4 separate regions of the Homo sapiens genome follow, and regions 2, 3 and 4 are each linked to region 1. The links are contacts of gene promoters, found by promoter capture Hi-C in human tissues and cell types (Jung and others, 2019). All regions are on one chromosome and are shown on one strand. The core of a region is centred on a gene start or on the middle of the fragment in contact, and the rest is flanking DNA. Distances in the headings are between cores, read along the strand shown. Region 1 holds the start of POLB (DNA polymerase beta). Region 2 has its middle 14 kb from the start of PLAT. Region 3 has its middle 32 kb from the start of IKBKB-DT. Region 4 overlaps IKBKB-DT (IKBKB divergent transcript).

Evidence for each region. Contacts are between HindIII fragments. The study calls those that stand out against the background at their distance.
Region 2: a contact is called between a fragment that was not itself captured here and the fragment with the promoter of POLB in region 1, in 5 of the 25 tissues and cell types used here (adrenal gland, mesenchymal stem cells, neural progenitor cells and 2 more).
Region 3: a contact is called between a fragment that was not itself captured here and the fragment with the promoter of POLB in region 1, in 2 of the 25 tissues and cell types used here (IMR-90 fibroblasts and neural progenitor cells).
Region 4: a contact is called between a fragment that was not itself captured here and the fragment with the promoter of POLB in region 1, in 3 of the 25 tissues and cell types used here (adrenal gland, aorta and mesenchymal stem cells).

Annotation. Positions count from the first base shown.
Region 1 is chr8:42,337,046-42,339,822 of GRCh38, reverse strand. It overlaps POLB (DNA polymerase beta), which reads right to left and starts at 1,329. Exons shown (of 14, transcript NM_002690.3): 1 at 1,138-1,329; 2 at 754-811. The coding sequence starts at 1,198. The HindIII fragment of the contact is 25,945 bases long and covers 1-2,777 here.
Region 2 is chr8:42,219,988-42,222,764 of GRCh38, reverse strand. No RefSeq gene overlaps it. Among named protein-coding and RNA genes, the nearest start is that of PLAT, 14 kb to the right of the region's middle. The HindIII fragment of the contact is 9,124 bases long and covers 1-2,777 here.
Region 3 is chr8:42,238,282-42,241,058 of GRCh38, reverse strand. It overlaps a transcript of IKBKB-DT not described here. Among named protein-coding and RNA genes, the nearest start is that of IKBKB-DT, 32 kb to the left of the region's middle. The HindIII fragment of the contact is 4,316 bases long and covers 1-2,777 here.
Region 4 is chr8:42,256,058-42,258,834 of GRCh38, reverse strand. The region is part of intron 3 of IKBKB-DT (IKBKB divergent transcript); the gene reads left to right. Among named protein-coding and RNA genes, the nearest start is that of IKBKB-DT, 14 kb to the left of the region's middle. The HindIII fragment of the contact is 5,944 bases long and covers 1-2,777 here.

The DNA.
Region 1 (2,777 bases), core at 80-2,579:
AAGGTGTGTGGACCATTTGAGTTTAGGAGTTGGAGATCAGCCTGGGCAACATAGCAAAACCCGGTCTCTACAAAAAAAAAAAGAAAAAAAAAGAAAGAAAAAAAAATTAGCTGGGTGTGGTGGCGTGCGCCTGTAGTAGTCCCAGCCACTCAGGAGGCTGAGATGGGAAGATCACTTGAGGCTGGAAGGTTGAAGCTGCAATGAGCCATGATCATACCACAGCGAGACCCCGTCTCAAATAAAAATAAATAAATAAATAAATATAGGCTAAGGAGTAGAAGCAGGTGGATGTGGAAAGAATGAATAGGATAAGGCCCCTGGTGAGATGAACAAGGACAGGATCCCATGAACAAGGAACAAGGATCAGGATCAGGATCCCACAGGATCAACTTTAGACCAACCAAAAGAAAAAATGTGATTCCTTGAACCACATATATTTCACAGTATGGACTTCATCCGCTGTCTTTCATTACGGTTAAAATTACACCGCATTTCTAGTAATTCATGTTTGATGATGACAAAATACGTATCAGGCTACAGCTATCTGCAATCAGAATTGGGAACTTATCTGAACTGATCCTATAACGCACTGCCCACATTCTTCAAGAAATAGTAAGGTACCAGCCTCGATTCTTGCTTTTTCCCGCTCTTGCAGATGGACCAAATATCCACTGGGCCCTCAGTCCTGTTAATTGCCACACTAAACAGGGTATCCCAGAACGTATGCTACCCGAGAATGCTGCACTGTCCCACCTGTAAGCATTGTACTTGTGGATAGCTTGGCTCACGTTCTTCTCAAAGTTTGCGAGTTCTGAAAGGCAACAGAAGGCTCGGGTGAACAAGAACCACGAGTAAACAAACGAGAACTGTTTTCTGGAAGGGGATATGGCAGCCTCTAAGAGACAGTGACCACCCGTTTCCTCCAAGGGCCAGACCAAAAGCAGCCCAAGCGATGGCCCAGGTGTAGCCGGCAGGACTGACAACCAGCCAGGGGCGCCGGAGGGAGATCCCCACGGAAGACGACCCGCTGCAAGGAACCTACCCTACCCACTGGACTGTCGGTGTGGGAGAGAAGGAAGGCAGGGGAAGAGGCTGGAAGGAAAGAAGAAAGCCAGCGGGGCCCGGCCCGGTGCTAACCTGTGAGCATGTCGGTGATTCCCCCGTTGAGAGTCTCCTGCGGCGCCTTCCGTTTGCTCATGGCGGCCTGCACCCGAGAACCCCAGAGTGTTCAGAACCAGGGACTAGAGCCCTCTCCCAGCTTGAAGGAGGTACCAGGACTTGGAGACGGGAGCAGGAGCAACCCAGCTCCGGCGCGACCGGCGGAACAATGGTTGCCCCCGATGGGGGGCGGGGCGCACGGCGCTTGTTGTGACGTCACGCGTCCTGGGCGGGGCGGGGCGGGGCTAGAGGGGCGAGCCCTCGGCAGGTGAGGAGAGAGAACTCGGAGGGTTCGTGGACTCGTGGACGTGGACACGGCGCGGGGGAAATAGGCACCTCAGAATGACAGCCCAGGGGCCTTCCTATGGGAAGACCTGGAGTTTTGACCTAAGATATTAAATCTGTTTTCTCAGTGTTTATCTGGAATCCTTTCCCTAGAAGGGGAAACGGGAGTGCGATCTTGATTCTGAAATACTTGCGCTGGTGGGGTAGCTTCCTGCACAAAAATGTGCACTGTAATAGCTACCCAATGCATGGCGCGTTTTGTACGTGGTTAGAGGCGACACTGGCGTCACACTGTCAAAACTTTCTCTAAGGATACCGGGCAGTCCACACTCCAGTGCAGCCCCTTACGTACTAGGGCGCTGCCGGAGCCCGGCGTGAACCATGCCGAGAACAGGAATCCTCCCGCACACGTGTTAGTACACCTGCCAACCAGTGTCAAAAGATATTTTATTTTTAATCCCCCTGCCTTTGCGGTAGGGACCAAATTAATGAAGAGACCACAAGAAAGGGAGAAGTGTTTCATCTAGATCATGAGCAATGGAACCCTAATTATAACATGATGACCTACATCTGAGAAATTTACAGTCTGCTTGAGAAATGGAAATGTCACATCAGCAATAGTTTATTTTACAAGCGTAACTCCTGGGTTCATATCGAACTGCAATTCCAGGCAATTGCTTTGTGCATCGAAAAATTAAAATTTATTACAAAATGATACGTAGTTGCTGTAGAGAAATCTGGAAAAATGTATAAAAGGAGAAAATTAAAATCAGTGATCTCACCCTACAGCTGAACTATTAATATTTTGGGACGTACACTTCTAGTCTTCTAACCCAGTCTATTAAAAATTCCCATTATTTTCCAATAAATATCATTAGTTTCTTTGATTAGCAAGGTTGTGGTGATTGTGTTTCCTTACAATATCAGTGTATATCTTAAGTTATGCTTATTGGAAATCTGTAATTCTTCTTTTTTTGAATTTCCTATTCATATCATTTACCATTTTCCTAATGGGGGTAGTTTGTTACTAATCTGGTAGATCTTTTCTATATATTACTACTTGCCCTTTTATGGATAGCTTTTGTAAAAATTTTGTACATATTTGTATTTTCCTCAATTTATTACTTGAGGAATAAAAGTTAAAAAAACTTTATGCCTGCAACTTAACTATCTGATTAGTTAAGCTGCAGTGAGCAGTGACCACTCTCATTTACTCTTTATACTCTCATTTACATATATGACTTGTCCTAGTTTTCCCTGTTCACACTTTTTTCTGTCCAATCTCTATTCCAGGTGATATTCAGATTATTTTGCTCTGAAGAATTATTCCTCCT
Region 2 (2,777 bases), core at 118-2,617, 120 kb after region 1:
AGTGCAGTGGTGCAATCTCGGCTTACTGCAACATCCACCTTCTGGGCTCAAGTGATTCTCCTGCCTCAGCCTCCTGATAGCTGGGATTACAGGCACCTGCCACTATGCCTGGCTAATTTTGTATTTTTAGTAAAGACAGGGTTTCGCCATATTGGCCAGGCTGGTCTCACACTCCTCACCTCAGGTGATCCACCTACTTCGGCCTCCCAAAGTGCCTGGATTACAGGTATGAGCCACCGCACTTGGCTTAGCCAGACTTCTTTGAGGACAAATCTCTGTAAAATGGTGGCAGGTCTTGCTTGGTGTGGAGTAAATGTGAAGGAGTAAATAAAAGGCATTTGTACAAATGATGCACTTCAGTATTAATTGTTTAACTCAGCAGATATTTGGTGAGGATTCCCCAAATGCCTGACACATATGACAGAGGAAAAGAGACCTATTCTTGCAAACTGCTCCAACTTTCAGAGGGTGGAACGAAAAGAACCAAAATATTCTGCAACTAAGCAACCAAGTAAACTGGGTGCAGAGAGGAGATGAGCTGGGGCTGATGCCTCAGCAGGAATCTCTGGAATTCCTCTCGCCTGGTGACCTCAGTCACAGAGCAGCGGAGCCACGACCCCTTGGGTGGGCTCCAGGTGGGTCTCAGCCAGGATGAAGAGAGCGGAGCAGACAAACACTCCACTCCCTTCTCCCCAAGGGAGCCAGGCTTTTGCATCCCCAGGCAGCTTCCCGGGGTGAGTGGCCAACGCCTTGAGGTCCCCACCCTGTACCACCCCAGGTTCCAGGGTCCAACTCTGGGAAATCGTGGCATTCTCTGAACCCTTCCTGCTAGTGGGGTGAGGAGGGGGGTGGTTTCTGGCGATAGGGCAAGGGAGGAAAATCATCCTGGGTCTCACGCTCCGTTAGAGGCTGCACTGTGGAGAGAGCAGGGGTCCAGCTCCTGGAGGATCCGGGTTGGATGGGACTCTGCCACTTAGGGGAAGCAGTGAACATTGAGCTAGTGTTGCTGTCGCAAAATGGGATGTGTAACACCCACCTCATCGAATTTCGTGAGAATGAATGAGATCATTAATCATTTATGCAAACTATCTGGAACAGTGATGAAACCCAGAGGCTCCTTTAGTTCCTATTCTCCCTGCCCTGAGGATAAGGACCAAAGCCCTTAGCATGGCTCACAGTGCCTCTCGGAGCTGGCCCCGCCTCCCTGTCTAGCTTCATCTCTGGCTCTCACCTCCCTCGTCTCCAGCCACACTGATGGGCTGAGACTGCCAAGGCCCCAATGGTGCCATGCTTCAGGGCTTGGGCTCCCACCTATGCCTCTCTTTCCAGCAGTGCCCTTCGCCCCAGCTCGCTTGGCAAATGCCTACTTCCCTTATTCAGCTCTGCACAGCAATGCCTGTCCCACGAAGCCTGTCCCATTCCAACCCCCTGCTCAGAGAAAGCGACCAGTGCCTCCTTTGAGCTGTCCCATACCAGGTGCTTCTTCTGTCTTGTGTCTCCTCTCTAGTGTAAGGTGGCAAACAACAGCCTACGGACCAAATCCAAATCACCATCTGATTTTGTAAATAACTTTTTTTTTTTTTTTGAGACGGAGTCTCACTCTGTCACCCAGGCTGGAGTGCAGTGGTGCGATCTCAGCTAACTGTAACCTCTGCCTCCTGGGTTTAAGTGATTCTCCTGCTTCAGCCTCCTGCGTAGCTGGGATTACAGGCACGTGCCAACACTCCCGGCAAATTTTTGCATTTTTAGTAGAGATGGGGTTTCACCATGTTGGCCAGGCTGGTCTCCAACTTCTGACCTCAAGTGATCCACCCACCTCAGCCTCCCAAAGAGCTGGGATTACAGGCGTGAGCCACTGCGTCTGGCCTAGAAATAACATTTTATTAGAACATAGCCACACTCATTGCATAGGGTCCCTGGCTGTTTTCACGTTGCAAGGGCACAACTGTATAGTTACAACAGAGACCACGCTGCCTGTAAAGCCTGCACTATTCACCACCCAGCCCTTCCCAGAAAAGTATTTCCAGCTGCCAGCTCTAGTACTTCCTTGTCTCCTCTCCCTAGACTTCTGAGACATTTGTTCTGAGGGCCAAGAACAAATGTCACTAGCTTCTGCAGCATGCTGCCTGGCCTAGCAGAACCCAGCACTGAGGAGGAGAAGGCTGAGCACGTAATCACATGCGTGTGTTTTCTTCTTTGTCTTTCTCATTCCTAGGGGAGTGAGGGCCCCTCCTGTGGCTTGAATTAGAGGTATAGGGTCTGTTTGATGGAGTCAAGGCTTCCTGGATCCTAGTAAGTAGACCAGAGTGAAACTGTGATGTAAAGCAGCCTCTCTGGATCAGGAAAAGCTCCATCAGGAGAGGTTCCCTCCTGGCACAGTGCTCCTGAGGATGGCCCCCAGGATGCCGCAGAACCAGAGAGAAGACTCTGGGGACAGGAGAACAGCAGGGAAACCTGGCAGAAGTTCTGTTCGAGGAAGTGTTATACAGTCAGATTTTGTAAATGTCAGATCTTGACAAATGATCAAATCAGTTTCTCAGGAAGTGATGATGACATTAAATTGGTTGGGACTTTTTTTTTTTTTTTGTAGAGATGGGATCTACCTATGTTGCCCAGTCTGGCTTCAAACTCCTGAGTTTAAGCAATCCTCCTGCCTCACTCTCTCAAAGTGCTGGGATTACAGGAGTGAGCCACTGCGCCTCTCCCTACCCTTTTTCTTCAAGAGACATGGTCTTGCTCTGTCGCCCAGGCTGGAGTGCAGTGGAGCAATCATAGCT
Region 3 (2,777 bases), core at 189-2,688, 99 kb after region 1:
CACAGCCAGACAGAAAAGAAGGTTGAATTGGAACAAGAAAAAATTCATTTTGTCGGTGTCCTAAATGTACCACATTTTTTTTTTGAGACGGAGTCTTGCTATGTTGCCCAGGCTGGAGTGCAATGGCGCAATCTCAGCTCACAGCAACCTCTGCTTCCAGGGCTCAAGCGATTCTTCTGCCTCAGCCTCCCAGGTAGCTGGGAGTAAAGGTGTGTGCCACCATGCCTGGCTAATGTTTGTATTTTTAGTAGAGATTGGGTTTCACCATATTGGCCAGGCTGACCTCGAACTCCTGACCTTGTGATCCACCCACCTCGGCCTCTCAAAGTGCTGGGATTACAGGCATGAGCCACAGTGTCTGGCCCACATTCTGTTTTCAAGGTGTGTGGCAATATAGATTACTTGCTCTTTTTTTTTTTTTTTTTTTTTTTTTTGAGACTGAGTCTTGCTCTGTCGCTCAGGCTGGAGTGCAGTGGAATGATCTTGGCTCACTGCAAACTCTACCTCCCGGGTTCACACCATTCTCCTGCCTCAGCCTCCCAAATAGCTGGGACTACAGGCGTCCACCACCATGCCCGGCTAATGTTTTTGGATTTTTAGTAGAGACAGGGTTTCACTGTGTTAGCCAGGATGGTCTCGATCTCCTGACCTCGTGATCTGCCCGCCTCGGCCTCCCAAAGTGCTGGGATTGCAGGTGTGAGCCACTGTGCCTGGCCCCAATTACTTGCTGTTTCTAAATAAACTTAAGAGACAGGCTTAGAATTAACACTTCTAATAAAGTTGTAACTAACAGGGGAACAAAAAAACCAAAGTGATTCCTCAAAAAAAAAAAAAACAGCATTTGGCTAACAAATTGCCATCTGGTGTCACATGCTTGATTATGAAAGCATCTTGTGCAACCATCTTTAATTTTTCAAATTTTCTTATGTCTAGAGGCTGTATCATAGTTTATGTACAGAACAAGCAAATTTAAGTATTCTGTTAACGTGCAAATGACTTGGGAATGTAAAAATCAGTTTGTTATAAAGGAAAACAGAAATTCAAAAAGATTTTTCCTGGAAGACATATCATCATTCAGTTTACAATCTTGTATTTATAGTTTTAAAAAATTGCCTTTTACGGCCAGGCACGGTGGCTCATGCCTATAATCCCAACACTTTGGGAGGCTGAGCCAGGTGGATCACCTAAGGTCAGGAGTTCGAGACCAGCCTGGCCAACATGGCAAAACCTCCTTTCTACTACAAATACAAAAATTAGCTGTGGGTGGTGCCTGTACTCCCAGCTATTTGGGAGGCTGAGGCAGGAGAATCACTTGAACCTGTGAGGCAGAGGTTACAGTGAGCCAAGATCGTGCCATTGCACTCTAGCCTCGGCAAGAAGAGCAAAACTCCATCTCAAAAAAAAAAAATGAATAAATAAATAAATATATATATATATATATATAAATTGCCTTTTACAAAAATTGGTTGGCTCATTTGAAACCATTCAAAAGAAAGTATTTGTTTTGGAGAAACAAATACACTGTTGTTGGGCCTCAAATTGGTAATTTGTCAATTTTGGATGCTAATTCTAAATACAATATAAAGGAGGTCCAATTTAAAAACACTTTAAATTAGGCTGAGCTGGTGGGGAGAGATACCCACCGGAGGGGATGGGGGCCAAGCAGGTCGGGCCAGGCCACCTGAGGAATGGCAGACGCAGTGGCCCAGAGGGCGGCTAAAGGGAGCGAGAAGGAGATGGGAAGCGGGATGAGGGCCATGCTGTTGGGCTTCGAGGATGGTCACCCCAGGCTCACAGGAGAGGCCCCGTAGCTGTGGCTGCTGACATAAAGCCTCCAGCCAAAGGAACTGTGATGAGTGTTTTTTGATTGATCCATGGACTTTTGGGGCATTAGACTATGAGTCTCTGGATCTTACTTAAAGCATGTGTTTTAGCTTGCTTCCTCTGATACCACTCTGACAGGGGAGGAGGAGCTACCTCATCACAGCCAGATGGGGGTACAGGTCCAGGTGTAATCACCAGATGGATTCTTCTTGTGTGCTGCACAGAAAAAACCAATTCACAGAGACAGCAGTGTTGCAGTAGAGAAAGAGTTTAATTAATTCAAAGCTCGCCAAGCAAAAGGATGGGAGTTTATTACTCAAATAAGTCTCCTGAAGAATTCAGAGGCTAGGGATTTTATGGATAATTTAGCAAGCAGGGGCTAGGGAATGGGTGCTGATGATTGGTAGGGGATGAAATCACAGGGGTGTGAAAAAGAGCCCTCGTGCTAAGTAAGTCTCTGGATGGTGGCCACAGGACTGGGTGAGTCATGACCCTTGGGTCCAGGTGGAGTCAGTTGGTCCCAGAATTAAAAAGCCTGAAAAACATCACAAAACACCAATCTTAGGTTCTACAACAAGGATGTTATCTATAGAAGTGATTGGGGAAGTCACAAATCTCAACGACCTCTGGCTCCGTGACTCCTAACCAGTAAAGGATTATAGGAAAGCCACCTAAGGAACCATGGCTGGTTATCATTTAACTACACCTGCATCTTAGCAAAATTTGGGCCCCTCCCATCATCCTCATCTTGTGGACTTTCATTAGTCTTTCAAAGGCTCTTTCAGTCCCTGAACAAGGAGGGGGTCAGTTTTATGGAGGGGCTATTATCATCCTTGCTTCAAAGTTAAAGTGTAAACTAAATTCCTCCTGTGGCTAGCTTGGCTTACACTCAGGAATGAGTGAGGACAGTCAGCCTGTAAGGCTAGAAGCAAGATGGACCCAGCCAGGCTAGA
Region 4 (2,777 bases), core at 155-2,654, 81 kb after region 1:
TGTAAAGAACAAAACTTGTATGCAAGGAAAATAGGATACGGGATTTCTGTAAGACAAGGTATGAAGCAGCTGGGCGCGGTGGCTCAAGTCTGTAATTCCAGCACTTTGGGAGGCCGAGGCGGGCGGATCACCAGGTCAGGAGATCTAGACCATCCTGGCTAACATGGTGAAACCCTGTCTCTATTAAAAATACAAAAAATTAGCCGGGCATGATGGTGGGCGCCTGTAGTCCCAGCTACTCGGGAGGCTGAGGCAGGAGAATGGCGTGAATCCAGGAGGCGGAGGTTGCAGTGAGCAGAGATCGCGCCACTGCACTCCATCCAGCCTGGGCGACAGAGTGAGACTCCGTCTCAAAAAAAAAAAAAAGAAAGAAAGACAAAAACTGAATGGAGCTAGGCATGGTGGCACATGCCTGTAGTCCCAGCTACTCAAGAGGCCAAGGCAAGAGTATTGCTTGAGCCCAGGAGTTCAAGACCAGCTGGGGCAACATAGCAAGACTGTCTCAAAACAAAAATAAAACAAAAAAAACCCTGAATAGATTTAGAAAGTTAGAGAGAGAGAATCTTGTGTGATTAAGTTGGCTAAAATTGAATCAATTTATTATAAGGATCTCAAAAATGAGCCTTAATATCAAAAGTACAATCTAAAACTAGAGTTTCATCTTCTTTCTTAAAATTACAAAGTTTTATTGGAGTATTGGACTTCTCTTGATAAAATACTGTGGAACGTTTTTCTTTACCGTCTATGTAATCTGTGTAGGAAATCTAGAATTTGCTGAGGTGGAAAAAAATCTGCGTCTTATCAGAATAATTTCCTGTGTTTCATGTTGTCTTTTTCAGGTGTTTGATTACTTAAGAAGACTCAGTCTTCTCTGTTAAAAGAGCTAAGCTAAAAAAAAAAAAAAGAAAACTGTATACCTTTCTGTAATTACCTCTGAAATCTTCCAGCGCTTTGGTTAAATGGATAACTGAGTAATGTTTTACAGTGATCTGTGATCCTGTTTAATCAAAAAATTTAGTCTTTTGACTTTTAAAAAAAAAATTGTCCTTTGAAAATTTTTTTTTAGAGATAAGGTCTCCTCCTATGCTGCCCAGGCTGATGTCGAACTCGTGGGCTCAAGTGATCCTCCTGCCTTGGCCTCCCAAAGTGCTGGGATTATAGGCATGAGCCACTGAGCCCAGCCGTCTTTTGGCATTTTTGACAACTTTGAAAAATCAAACTCTACATGAAGTGTTTTTGACCTTGAGCTAACTTTGGAATTTTCCTGAAGGCCCCTAAAAAGTCACAAAGGACTTGTCTTTCTTCTTTTTTATTTATTATTAATTTTTTTTTTTTGAGATGGAGTCTCGCTCTGTTGCCAGGCTGGAGTGCAGTGGCGCGATCTTGGCTCACTGTAACCTCCACCTCCGGGTTCAAGAGATTCTCCTGCCTCAGCCTCCCAAGTAGCTGGGACTACAGGCGCGTGCCACCACACCCAGCTAATTTTTGTATTTTTAGTAGAGATGGGGTTTCACCATGTTGGCCAAGATGGTCTCAATTGGTTGACCTCGTGATCCGCCTGCCTCGGCCTCCCAAAGTGCTGGGATTATAGGCATAAGCCACTGCACCCGGCCTTGTCTTTCTTCTTATAAAAACAAACTTGTTAAATTAATTTGGTACGTTAAATTACATGGGAAGCATTGTTAAAAAAGAAGTGATACTAAAGCTTCTTTATGTCATATTTGTATGTATTTATGTGTTCCAGAAATTGCATGAAGTTATAATGTTGTCAGTTATAATTCTAGTTATTATCTTAAAATGTATGTGACAGAAGTAACTGAATTTTTTTCTCAATTGTATTACAATTAATTCTCATCCTTTAACCATGACCATTTGAAGTCTTTTGTCATCCACAGACAGTTAATTGTTTTATTTTGATGCATTCCTAAAAGCTTTTGCAAACAACTATAATATGAACCACCATGCTTATGTGGTTTCTTTGCATGGCTGCTGTGCTGATGAGTAAGAAAAGTCATTTCCTGGTAGGCCCAGGAACCTCAAGAAAGTGCATTTGTATTTAAGGAGATTCATGGAGAAAACGGACAAGTACACGTTCCTGATGACTTTAAGATCATACCGTTCAACTTCCAGAACACTAATGGAAAAACTGACTCATTCATGAAATTGCTAACCAAAGATCAAGCAGAACAAGAATTAATTACATCAGACTAGATGACCCAATGAAGATGATTTAAATTATTTTTAATTATTATTATTTTTTTTGAGATGGAGTTTTGCTCTTGTTGCCCAGGTTGGAGTGCAATGGCACAATCTTGGCTCACTGCCACCTCTGCCTCTCGGGTTCAAGTGATTCTCCTGCCTCAGCCACTTGAGTAGCTTGGATTACAGGCGCATGCCACCACCCACAGCTATTTTTTTTTTTTTTTTGTATTTTTGGTAGAAACGGGGTTTCACTATGTTGGCCAGGCTGGTCTCAAACTTCTCACCTCAGGCTATCCACCTGCCTCAGCCTCCCAAACTGCTGGGATTACAGGCATGAGCCACCACGCCCGACTGATGATTATAATTCTTATGACTTCTTGTTTTAGGACATTTCTGGGTCTTTAATGGCTTTTCTCTTTTTTTCTTAAGCTAACTAAAATTTACAGCAATCAGGTAAATTATACCTTCGTAAACAGAATTGAAACATTTATCCTTTTTTCTCTACCTGATCCCTGTAGAATTCAGAAACTCTTACTGGCTATTCTTATTTTCATGACTACTCATGACTATATAGT